Regions from separate parts of the Homo sapiens genome. Here region 1 is linked to region 2. Evidence: promoter capture Hi-C in 16 types of primary human blood cells and fetal thymus (Javierre and others, 2016). All regions are on one chromosome and are shown on one strand. Each heading gives the region's core, a stretch centred on a gene start or on the middle of the fragment in contact. The rest is flanking DNA. Distances are from core to core; before and after follow the strand shown. Region 1 overlaps GBP7 (guanylate binding protein 7). Region 2 holds the start of GBP5 (guanylate binding protein 5).

Region 1 (6,138 bases), core at 3,246-5,745, 130 kb after region 2:
AAACAAACCATTTCTTTTATTTATCAAATAATGTGATAGTTTTTGTGCTAAGTACAGAAATACACTATGAAAGGAAAAACTTTGTTTTCAGAATCTTACGATTTTACACAAGATGGACAAATTAATACTCATTGGATATGGTGTGATTGTGGTTATCATATTGGTATACATTGATAGGGGTGATAATGATGGTGATGATGAAATGAATGGTTCATAGACATTGAGCATTCATTTTGTGTATCAGATATTATTTTAGGTGATTTTGTTGGATTATCAATTTCATTCTAATAATGTAAATTAGTTACTACTATCTTCCACATAGGCAATTGAGAAATGTGAATGCATGGAGAGGCTAATAAATTTCCTATGACACAATCACCAAGTGGTGGAGCTGATGGGCTGATCTATGTACTTGAACGCCACTGGAAACTCAGGATTTTCCTTTTTGAAGAAACTGTCCTGTGTTCTATGATGACTATACTAATTTACTTTCCTATACTAATTTCCTCCCAACGGTGTCTAAGGGTTCCCTTTTCTCCACATCCTTGCCAACGCTTGTTATCTTTTGACTTTTTGATAATCATCATTCTGTGTGAGGTGATATCTCATTATGGTTTTTCATTTGCATTTCTCTGAAGATTAGTGATGCGGAACATGCTTTCACATACTTGATGGCCATTTAAATGTCTTCTTTTGAGGGATGTCTGTTCAGGTCTTTTGCTCATTTTTTTAAAAATCAGTTTTGTTGTATTTTGTTTTGTTGTGTTGCTATTGAGTTATATGAGCTCATTATATATTTTGGATATTAAGCACTTATCAGATATATGGTTTGCAAATATGTTCTATTCTGTATGTTGCCTTTTCTTTTTTCCTTTCTTTGTTTTTTCATTGAGTGGTAACTTAGTTTGATGTAGTCCCACTAGTTTCTTTTAGCACTTGTTTCCTGTGCTCTTGGTGTGAAATTCAAAAATATCATTGCCAAGACCAGTGTCAAGGAGTATTTCCTGGGTTTTCTCTTAGGAGTTTTACAGTCTCTGGTCTTATGTTCAAATCTTTAACCAATTTTTAGTTGACATTTGTGTGTAGTACAAGGGTCCAGTTTTCCCACCACCATTCCACCATTTATTAAAGATACTATCTTTTTCTCATGGTGTACTCTTGACACATTTTTTTGAAAAGTCTTTGACTGTAAATGTGTGGGTTTGTTTCCTGGCTCTCTATTCTGTTCCATGCAGTTAGATGTCTCTTTATGCCAGCATTACACTACTTGATACCTTTGTAGTAGATTTTGAAGTCAGATAGTATGATGCCTTTGGCTCTGTTTTTCTTGTTTTGGCTATTTGGGGTCTTTTATGGTTCCATATGAATTTTATAATTGGTTTTCTTACTGCTGTGAAAAAACACCATTGGAATTTTGATAGAAATTGTGTAAACCTGTAGATTTTTTTTAGATAGTATGAACATTTTAACAATATTAATTTTTCCAGTCAATGTACATGGAATATCTCTCCATTTATTTTATGTCTTCTTCAGTTAATTTCATCAGCATTTTATGATTGACAGAGTACAAATCTTTTACCTCTTTGGTTACATTTATTTCTAAGCATTTTATAATTTTGATGCTATTATAAATGTGATTTTCTTATTTTTTCATATAGTTTGTTCTTAGTGCATAGAAATGTAGCTGAATTTGTATGCTAATTTTGTATCCTCCAACTTTGCTGAATTTATTAGTTTAACAGCTATTGGTGGACTTCTGGTTGTATTTCCAAAGGAACTAAAGTCACTATCTCAAAGAGATATTTTCACTCCCATGTTCATTGCAGCATAATTTGCAATAGCCAAGACATGAAAACAACCTGTGTCCATCCACAAATGAGCAAGTGAAGAAAATGTGATATATATGCATATCTATATGTAAATATAGATATATAAAATAAAGTATTATTGAATCCTAAAAAGAAAGAAATCCTACCACTGGCGACAACATGAATGAACCTGGAGGACATTATGCTTAGTGAAATCAGCCATTCTTAGAAAGACAAATACTGCATGACGCACCTTTATGTGAAATTATTTAAAAAGAGCGAAAGTCAGCTAGGCACAGTGGCTCACACCTCTAATCCCAGCACTTTGGGAGGCTGAGGCAGGTGGATCACAAGGTCAGGAGATCAAGTCCATCCTGGCCAACATGGTGAAACCCTGTCTCTACTAAAAATACAAAAATTAGCCTGGCATGGTGGTGCATGCCTGTAGTCCCAGCTACTCTGGAGGCTGAGGCAGGAGAATTACTTGAACCTGGGAGGCAGAGGTTGCAGTGAACCGAGATCGCACCACTGCACTCCACCTTGGTGACAGAGCGAGACTCCGTCTCAAAAAAAAAAAAAAAAAAAGAGTGAAAGTCACATTAACAGAGAGTAGAATGGGTGGTTACCAGACAGAGAGGGGTAGGAGGAAAGGGGAAATAGTGATCAGTAGGTACAAACATTCAGTTATAAGATGAGTAAGTTCTGGATGCCTAGTGTATAGCATGGTGACTATAGTTAAAACAATGTACTTTATACTAGAAATTTGCTAAGAGAGTAGGTCCCTTGTGTTCCCACCACACACACACAAAAAAAAGATAACTGCATGAGGTGCAGATATATTAGCTTGATTATAATAATCATTTCACAATGTATACATGTATCAAAATATCATGCTGTTCCTCTTAAACATAATTTTTACTTATCAATCAACTTCAAAAAACTTGTAAAACAAAATTAGAAATTAGCCTATATTATTAAAAAGGGAAAAATAGCACATACTGGTGAGGTTGTAGAGAAAAGGGAACGCTTATACACTGCTAGTGGGATTGCAAATTGTAAATTCCTCTGTGGGAAGCAGTTTGGAGATTTCTTAAAGAACTAAAAATAGAATTATTATTATTATTCAACCCAGCAATCCCATTACTAGGTATACACCCAAAGGAAAATAAAACATTCTACCAAAAAGACACCCACACTCATATGTTTATCACAGCACTATTCACAATAGCAAAGACACAGAATCAACCTATGCGCCCATCAATAGTAGACTGGATTTTTACAATGTGGTGCATATACACCTTGAGACACTATGCAGCCATAAAAAGAATGAAATCATGTCGTTTGCAGAAAAATGGATGCATCTGGAGGCCATTATCCTAAGTGAATTAATGCAGAAACGGAAAACCAAATACTCCATGTTCTCACTTGTAAGTGGGAGCTAAACAATGAATACACATGTACATAAAGACGGGAACAATATACACTGGGGAATACAAGAGGGAGGAGGCAGGGAGGGAAGTAGGGTTGAAAAACGACCTTTGGGGTTCTACATTCACTATCTGGGTGACTGTTTTGACTGAAGCCCAAACCTCAGTATCACGCAATATAGTCATGTAACAAACCTGCATGCGAACCCCATTGATCAAGTTGGGCTATTTGTCTCCACTCAAACCTCATATTGAATTGTAATCCCCAGTGCTGGAGGTGGGGCCTCGTGGGAGGTGTTTGGATCATGGGGGAAGATCCTTTATGGCTTGCTGCTGTCTGTGTGATAGTGAGTTCTCTGGAGGTCTGGTCATTTAAAAGTATGTGGCACCTCCACTCTCTCTCACTCTCTCTTGCTCCTGCTTTTGTCATGTGACATGCAAGCTCCTGCTTCACATTCCACCAGGAGTAAAAGCTTCCTGAAGCCTTACCAGAAGGCATGTTTCCTGTAAAGCCTGCAGAACTATGAGCCCATTAAACCTCTTTGCTTTATAAATTACCCCGAACTTAAAATAAAAGTTAAATAAAAAAAATTAAATGTAGATCCTAACTCTATACCTAAATCATTATTGCTCACTCACCCTAAAACAGTAGTGTCCAAAAAACTATTTTAAATTCAGATCAGATAAAAATAAATAGCTACTTGTAATCCTCCTTGGAAAGATACATATATCAAATCTGAGTATGATTTTTTACTTCATAAGTCACTACCAGTTAAACAGAAAAAAGTGCTTAATTCTGAACTGCAAGGTCCTTTGCATTCTCAGAACAAAGCCTAGTACAGGTCAGGTAATTTCACTTATCTGAGTTTCAATTTCCTCACAAAATGAAAAGAAGGTGACTGTTTAAGAAATCAAAATTCCAAGTGTTGACAAGAATATGAAGCAACTGGAATTCTCACACATTGCTAATGAGGTATAAATCAGAACATCAATTTGGAAAACTGTTTGGTTTTAATTGCTAAAATTGAAAAACAAATACCAAATGACCCAGCAAATCCATTCCTAGATATATACATTCACTTAAAAGACTGGGACAGAAATGGTCACAACAGTATCATTCACAATAGCACCAAACTGAAATTTTACCCTAATGTCCATCAACAATAGAACAAGTAAACTAGTGTATTCACATAATGGCGTACTATATCACAATGAAAGTGAATAAGCTACAATCACACAATAAGAAAAAAAATTACCCAGTCTCAGGTATTTGTAGCAATGCAAGAATGTCCTAATACACCCATGAATCTAAATTTTTTTTGAAAGAAGGGAACAAGGAAAATAACCGTCAAAAAATGCCTAGGTCCTTCCTTCTGTGATGTGCCCCACACACCCAAATTTCAGTCACTAATCACTTATTGGCTGAGGTATTTATGCCTCTTTTTCCTTCCCATGTGTGACTGTTAAGTCTATGCAGTGTTGTATTTTCCTTGATTGGTAATTTCCCATTTTGGACAGCCATGTTACTCCCTTAAAGTTTCAAATTCTTAAAGTTTCTCAGGCCAGGTACAGTGGCTCACACCTATAATCCCAACGCTTTGGAAGGCCAAGGTAGGAGGATTGCTTAAGACCAGGAGATTGAAACCATCCTGAGCAACATGACAGGACTTCCATCTCTACAAAAGTAAAAAATAAAATTAGCCAGCTGCGGTGGCACACATCTGTAGTCCTGGCTATGCAGGAGGCTGAGGCAGCAGCATTCAGCCCGGGAGTTCAAGGTTGAAGTGATAATACCATTGAACTTGTGCTTGGGTGACAGAGTGAGACTGTCTCAAAAGAGAAAAAAAAGTTTCTCAACTGTTCAATTTTCCATTATATTCACCACTACTCCTAAATAGACTAAACAGTTACCTGTTCGGTCTTTTTAAGGTTTTAACTTTTTAAATTAAATTTGAATACATTGTTTACTTTTAATGAACTATTATCAACATTCTTAACAGTGATCAAAAGTAAATAAATAAATAAATAATTAGCCTAGAAAAGCTTCCAGTGAGGTAAGAGCTATTAGGTAAAGTATCAATAGATGTTATCCTAATTTGAAAAGGGTAGGCAGGCCTTCAGGCAAAAGAAAAAAGAAAGCAAATAATGCAAACTATGGAGGATGTGTGTTTGTAGAACTGCATAGAAATCTGGTTGTCTGCACCGGGGGTGGGTGGTGAGCAGCATCCCTGGGAGAAGAGGCTGGACAGGCAGGAGGGAGGCTGCTACACAGGGTTTTCATGTCTCAACAAAGAGCTTGGACTTTTTATTGTGGCTGTGGAAGGAAAGAAACCACTGTGGAATCTTAAGAATAATGTGAAGTTTACAAGGTTAGATTTGTGGCTTTGTTGAACAATAATTTCCTCATCACAAGACAAGATTTCTGCTGCCTGACAGGTCTTTGCTCCTTCTTGGTTCTTCAGGCAGACGAGGTCCTCCAGAGCTTCCTGCAGTCACAGGTGGTTATAGAGGAATCCATCCTGCAGTCAGACAAAGCCCTCACTGCTGGAGAGAAGGCCATAGCAGGTACAGGGGCAGGGCTCAGCTCTCAGGCAAATGGGTAGGTTCTTGCAACACTCTCTTGATGTTCAGAAAAAAGGATTTTCCTTATACCAGGAGCTTTCTTCTCATAGGGAACACATGCTCTGCTAAAACTGAAAATAACAAGGGGAGTTGGGATTGAACATCCAGCCACTTAGTTTCTTCCCACAACATTCTTAAACATGCTCTTGCTGACATGGCTAGTGACAGAATTCAGAGATTCTCAATTCCCCACCTTGGTGCTTTTTTCAAAGTCATTTTGGCCTCTGAACTCAGGAGAGTAGAACTCAGACAAGACTGTTACTTTCTTTTTTTTTTTTTCT
Region 2 (6,269 bases), core at 963-3,462:
GTGATTTTGGGCAAGTTACTAAATCTCCCTGTGTCTTAGCTTTTGTAAAATTGGGAGAAAGCATTTGTTGGGAGAATTAAAATAGAATAATCCACACAAAGTAGTGAAACCTGTCCAGGGCATTACAAATGTCTAATAAATAATATCCTTGTTATCATTCATCATGTACTAAGTGCCAAAAACTTTGTCCTTGCCTGTGAGTTAAAGTTCTCAGCTACTGAACCTACTGCGAAAGTAATAAACTTAGTCCTGTGTGAGCAGCTCTAACATTTCACAACAATAGACCTCAAAAATCATATGAGCTCTTCCCCTGGCCTACTCCCAAACTGGAGATGAATGTCAACGTATTTCAAGCTAGGTTTGAAATACCACATACTTTGAACAACTGTGAAAGATCTCAAATTTCTCTTCTAGTAACAACAACAATGGAAGCAGGGAGGAGTATGGCTGGCACTGAAAGGATTCTCTGCAGTTTCTAGGAAACATGCAGTTTCAAAGAAGTCAGGTCAAATACATCCAGCCTATCTACACTAGGTAACAGTTGGGCAATTCCCTTTGTCATCTGGCTTAGTCACTGAATTTCCTTTTTGGTTTCTATTTCCTACAGAGAACTTTCAAAAATCCCCCTTTCTGTTATTCCATATTTTGTATTCAAATTGTCTCCTTTTTCGAGCAGGGAAAATGGGGTGGGAAGAACAAAAACCCCAGGACTGAGTGAAGAAAATAAATGAGAAATCACCACAGTGAAAGTAAAAGACGAGAGTTCGAACTCAGCAAGTTCTCATCGAAGCAGCTTTCTTTTTTCTTTTCTTTTCTTTTTTTTTTTTTTTTTGAGACAGAGTCTCGCTCTGTCACCCAGGCTGAAGTGCAGTGGTGCAGTCTCGGCTCACTGCAAGCTCCGCCTCCCAGGTTCAAGCCATTCTCCTGCCTCAGCCTCCCGAGTAGCTGGGACCACAGGCGCCCGCCACCATGCCCAGGTAATTTTTTGTATATTTTTAGTAGAGACGGGGTTTCATCGTGTTAGCCAGGATGGTCTAGATCTCCTGACCTCGTCATCCACCCGCCTCGGCCACCCAACATGCTGGGATTACAGGCGTGAGCCACCGTGCCCAGTCCCTCATGGAAGCAGTTTTCTTACTAGCTCTAAAATACCTCTTCTCCCGATTTTATAATCAAGGTAATGAGAGGTGACGGCGTGCTGGCAGCCCTTGCAGCCCTCCCTCGCTCTCGGTGCCTCCTCTGCCTGGGCACCCACTCTGGCGGCACTTGAGGAGCCCTTCAGCCCTCCGCTGCACTGTGGGAGCCCCTTCCTGGGCTGGCCGAGGCCGGAGCTGGCTCCCTCAGCTTGCTGGGAGGTGTGGAGGGAGAGGCAGGGGTGGGAACTGGGGCTGCGCCCGGTGCTTGAGGGCCAGCGCGAGTTCTGGGTGGGCTTGGGCTCTGAGGGACCTGCACTCGGAGCGGCCCCAGGCAGTGAGGGGCTTAGCACCTGGGCCAGCAGCTGCTGTGCTCCACTTCTTGCAGGGCCTTAGCTGCCTCCCGGTGGGGCAGGGCTGGGGACCTGCAGCCTGCCATGCCTGAGCCTCCTCCCCTCTCCCGCTCCCCACCTCACCCCGCCATGGGTTCCTGTGCTGCCTGAGCCTCCCCAACCTGTGCTGACCCCTGCTCCACAGCACCCTGTCCCATCCATGGCCCAAGGACCGAGGAGTGCCAGTGCATGGAGCAGGACTGGCAGGCAGCTCCACCTGCCGCCCGGTGCAAGATCCACTGGGTGAAGCCAGCTGGGCTCTTGAGTCTAGTGGGAACTTGGAGAATCTTTATGTCTAGCTAAGGGATTGTAAATACACCAATCAGCACTCTGTATCTATTTAATCTGGTGGGGACTTGGAGAATCTTTATGTCTAGCTAAGGGATTGTAAATGCACCAATCAGCACTCTGTATCTACCTCAAGGTTTGTAAATGCACCAATCAGCACTCTGTATCTAGCTCAAGGTTTGTAAATAGGCCAATCCACACTCTGTATCTAGCTAATCTAGTGGGGACATGAAGAACTTTTGTGTCCAGCTCAGGGATTGTAAACACACCAATCAGCACCCTGTCAAAACAGACCAATCAGCTCTCTGTAAAATGGACCAATCGGCTCTCTGTAAAATGGACCCATCAGCAGGATGTGGGTGGGGCCAGATAAGAGAAGTAGCCAGCAGTGGCAACCCACTGAGGTCACCCTCCAGGCTGTGGAACCTTTGTTCTTTCACTCTTTGCAATAAATCTTGCTGCTGCTCACTCTTTGGGTCCACACTGCCTTTATGAGCTGTAACACTCACTGGGAATGTCTGCAGCTTCACTCCTGAAGCCAGCGAGACCACGAACCCACCAGGAGGAACAAACAACTCCAGACGCGCAGCCTTAAGAGCTGTAACACTCACCGCGAAGGTCTGCAGCTTCACTCCTGAGCCAGCCAGACCACGAACCCACCAGAAGGAAGAAACTCCAAACACATCCGAACATCAGAAGGAGCAAACTCCTGACACGCCACCTTTAAGAACCGTGACACTCAACGCTAGGGTCCGCGGCTTCATTCTTGAAGTCAGTGAGACCAAGAACCCACCAATTCCGGACACGGTAAGACTGGGGCAAGAGGTGGAAGAGATTTGCAAGATTCATTTGGTTTTAGAAACATTCTACAAAGGATAGGATGCAGCTTATCCTGATGTGGTATATCAGACCTCAGTAAAGAATAAATTGTATTCTTATCAGACAGGCAGCAGAATTCATCAAGTACCAGCTGTGTCTGCCTCTTGCTGAATTAGACATCAATGTGTGTGGTGACTAAACTAAGAGTTTGAAATGCCTTCAAATTATTTTTCTTCCTTTGCAATTTTATGACTTATTCAGGATCATAATTTCCACTTAAGTTACCTTCGTCCTTCATAAAATCTGATTAAACTGACTCGAACTTCAGCATGAAAGTTTCAAAAACTATGATAGCTATTATTTTCATGAGAAAGAACAATGAATATGATGCAATGTAAGTAGCTTGCAAACATTAAGGACAAGAAAAAAATGTTGCCCAGAGAGAAGTTTCATGAAAACAGTGATGTATTTTTAGTCATAGTCTTGTACTTTGTTTGAAAGTAGATTTCTTCCTTTAGCAATAGCCCTGACTTAATTCATGTTGGTTTCTTGGCATCTACTCACTTAACTAACCCCTTTTGTGTTGGGTTCTGCTTCTACTACTCTATTGCCTTTACTATTATGAATCACCTAATTTAACAGTTGCCCAACTGGATCCCTCAATACTGTCTGGCAACTGTTCACTCGTTGAAATTCTCTCCTTTGAATTTCTTACCATGACACATACTTCAAGCATTTTGTACTAGTTTGATTTCCATTTATATCCTTAATAAGAGCCTTTTCCTTTTCCTTGAAATTCAAACCAGAAACTATGCAAAATAAGCAAAAGCAAGCAATAACAACTACATATACAAATGCAGGCGCAAAACCCAAACTAGAATCATATGGCTGAAAACAGATGTTTTCTTTCAGAAATCCTTCCACTACCACTTCTGAGCATTTTCTCTTAGTATTTTTTTTTGGGCATTTTCCTTCTTTGCACTTTTTAAAATCTCCTGCAGCTCGCTCACTCTCTTTCATAAGCCAGCAGTTATACTGATGTTAATAAATAGTTGTTTATTTACTTTTGCTTTTTTAGAAAACAAGCTGAAAGAATTGAGTGAAATGCCAGAGAGATACAGATAGCCAGTTGTAGGGCTGGGGTTGGAAATCAAGTCTAATTTAAGGCAAGGGCAAAATGTGCATTTTGTGTGTGTATTTTGAACCATTCTTGCATTGTTTTTATTTGCAAAGGTTATAGGGCTCAAGCAGTTAGGGAGAATGCATCCCAGAACACTAAGTTATGAATAACAGAGCAACAGTTATGTTTGTGGCTTGAACACATTAAATCTGCAATAATGTTTTAGAAATTTGGCTTTACTAAAAGCATTAAAGATGCTATCCAGATGACATTGGGGACAACATGTCAAATACTATTATTAATGTAGATATACAATGCTATTGTCATTCATAAGAGAGTCTGAACACTCAGACACATTCATTCCCTCTTCCTTAGTGACATCATCCCAAATCATAAGATCTTGTAAGCTCTCAATATCTGCTTATAGATTTGGCTTATGTATCTTTTGTTTTTCTAGCTAATTGTTGTAGATCATCACTTCAAGGTGCCCATATCTTTCTAGTGGAAAAATTATTCTGGCCTCCGCTGCATACAAATCAGGCAACCAGAATTCTACATATATAAGGTACTAATACTACATTGAAAATAGATTAGAATGAGAAGAGACCTGCCATTTGAGTCTCTAAATTTGTTGCAAAATTGCCTCTTTCTGGGTCAGGCTTGCACTAGGCATTTCCTGACTCCCATGTCCTAGTGCTACACCATTTGCAAATGGATATCCTATTTTCTGCTGCCAAGCAGTTTCTGTTTTAATTTATGTCAACATAATGATTTCCAGGGCATTAGCTATGAGGAAGCAGGGAGAATGGGTCTTCATAATTGTAAAATGACAGTTTTTGAAATTTGCTAGTAAAGAGATGGAGAATCCAAACCTTTTCATTGTAAGATTTTAGTGAAAGAACTCGTCAAGCGGATAGTGAAGTTTTAGCATCCTTAGTAAATAACCACCTTTAAAATGGAAGAAAACTATCCTTTATGATAAGGCAAAGTAGAAAAGCATATTTTTATGGCATTTGCTTTTTCTCATATAGCTCAAACATTTTTTTTAACCAGAGACTCTTTAGGTTATAGGGATTGATGCTCAGAAGTTAGAAAAAAATAGGTTAAGTATTATTAAAGGAAGTTGTTTTACTCATTCAGTCAATCATAAAATAATCATGCTTTGAAGTTTTGGTTTAATAAAGCACATTAGTAACTATGTAAAAAATTTCAAGTATATCACTAAGAAGCAAACAGCTATGATTTGTTAGATAATGCTGCATAATGACTTGGTAGTATTTAATGTAATGCAGTTTGACTGGACATAGATCTAACTGAAAAAAATGAAGTTGACACAAAGTAAAAGGAACAGTGTAATATATTAATAAAGAACATCATAAAGAATTAATATAGGAACCCAGGGAGGTAAAAACTAAAAAACATAACTAAGCCAAAAACCAATGGAATAAGAGTTAGATTCAAACTAGTAGGTTAGACGCAGGAAATGGATTTTCGTATGCCTATCAAATATTTAAGAACCAGTAGAATGGCCTATAGTAGACATATAAAGGGCCTAGGACTTACTTTTGTTTTAAAATAAAGTCTCTCTATTTTACAGGACTCTTTTTATTTTAAAACTTTTTTTTTCCAGAAACTTAGGCAGTGCTGGGGAGTAGTATGTCCCCAGGTTCAGTAAGCAAAATGACTTCCTTTGCTTATTAAACAAACACCAGAAATTCCAGCCTATCCCATCTGTTCCCTTGCAGGCAAAGTAACATCCTAGACATGGCTTTAGAGATCCACATGTCAGACCCCATGTGCCTCATCGAGAACTTTAATGAGCAGCTGAAGGTTAATCAGGAAGCTTTGGAGATCCTGTCTGCCATTACGCAACCTGTAGTTGTGGTAGCGATTGTGGGCCTCTATCGCACTGGCAAATCCTACCTGATGAACAAGCTGGCTGGGAAGAACAAGGGTGAGTGGTACCAGCAAAGCTCTGCCAAACCCTTCTGTCCATTCACACAGTCACCATCCAGTACGAGGAAGCAAGGAGAGAGTAAGACATGAGGATGAATATTAAAAGCCAATGTTTAGGCTACAGCTGGTCTTTTTATCTTTTGGAAGATGAAGACCAGTTCTCTGTTCCTGACATATCACCTCTTTTTTTTTTCTTTGCCTTGATTTCTTCTTGTAAAATGTATAATATATTCTCCTTGTAAGGAGTAAGACATCAATGAAGTAATTCCCGTATACATAATTATAAACTAGCAACATTTTAGTAGCATAATATTTTTTTAATATCAAAGTTCCAACCTATGGTATTTGATATTGTTTTTCCATTTCTGCATCATCATTCAAATCAATACTGGTTGTACATTCTGCTATCTCCTCATCTTGCTTTCCTTAAACTCTAGCTGAATGATCAAGCAAATCCCCAATTTCCAGAGTTTCTCTTCTATTACAACCTCTCACTCCCCCTGACAGGCTTCTCTGTTGCATCTACGGTGCAGTCTCACACCAAGGGAATTTGGATATGGT

Evidence for each region. Contacts are between HindIII fragments. The CHiCAGO score rates a contact against its expected background, and 5 or more counts as called.
Region 1: a contact is called between a fragment that was not itself captured here and the fragment with the promoter of GBP5 in region 2, in 8 of 17 cell types (total CD8 T cells, activated CD4 T cells, naive CD8 T cells and 5 more). The highest score is 15.5, in total CD8 T cells.

The regions. Positions count from the first base shown.
Region 1 is chr1:89,141,208-89,147,345 of GRCh38, reverse strand. It overlaps GBP7 (guanylate binding protein 7), which reads left to right. Exons shown (of 11, transcript NM_207398.3): 9 at 5,698-5,800. All of the region lies in intron 1 of LOC105378842 (a long non-coding RNA gene), which reads right to left. Among named protein-coding and RNA genes, the nearest start is that of GBP2, 18 kb to the right of the region's middle. The HindIII fragment of the contact is 1,570 bases long and covers 3,711-5,280 here.
Region 2 is chr1:89,268,803-89,275,071 of GRCh38, reverse strand. It overlaps GBP5 (guanylate binding protein 5), which reads left to right and starts at 2,212. Exons shown (of 12, transcript NM_052942.5): 1 at 2,212-2,620; 2 at 4,210-4,317; 3 at 5,498-5,706; 4 at 6,216-6,269. The coding sequence starts at 5,517. It also overlaps the pseudogene LOC100421401. The HindIII fragment of the contact is 6,725 bases long and covers 1-5,597 here.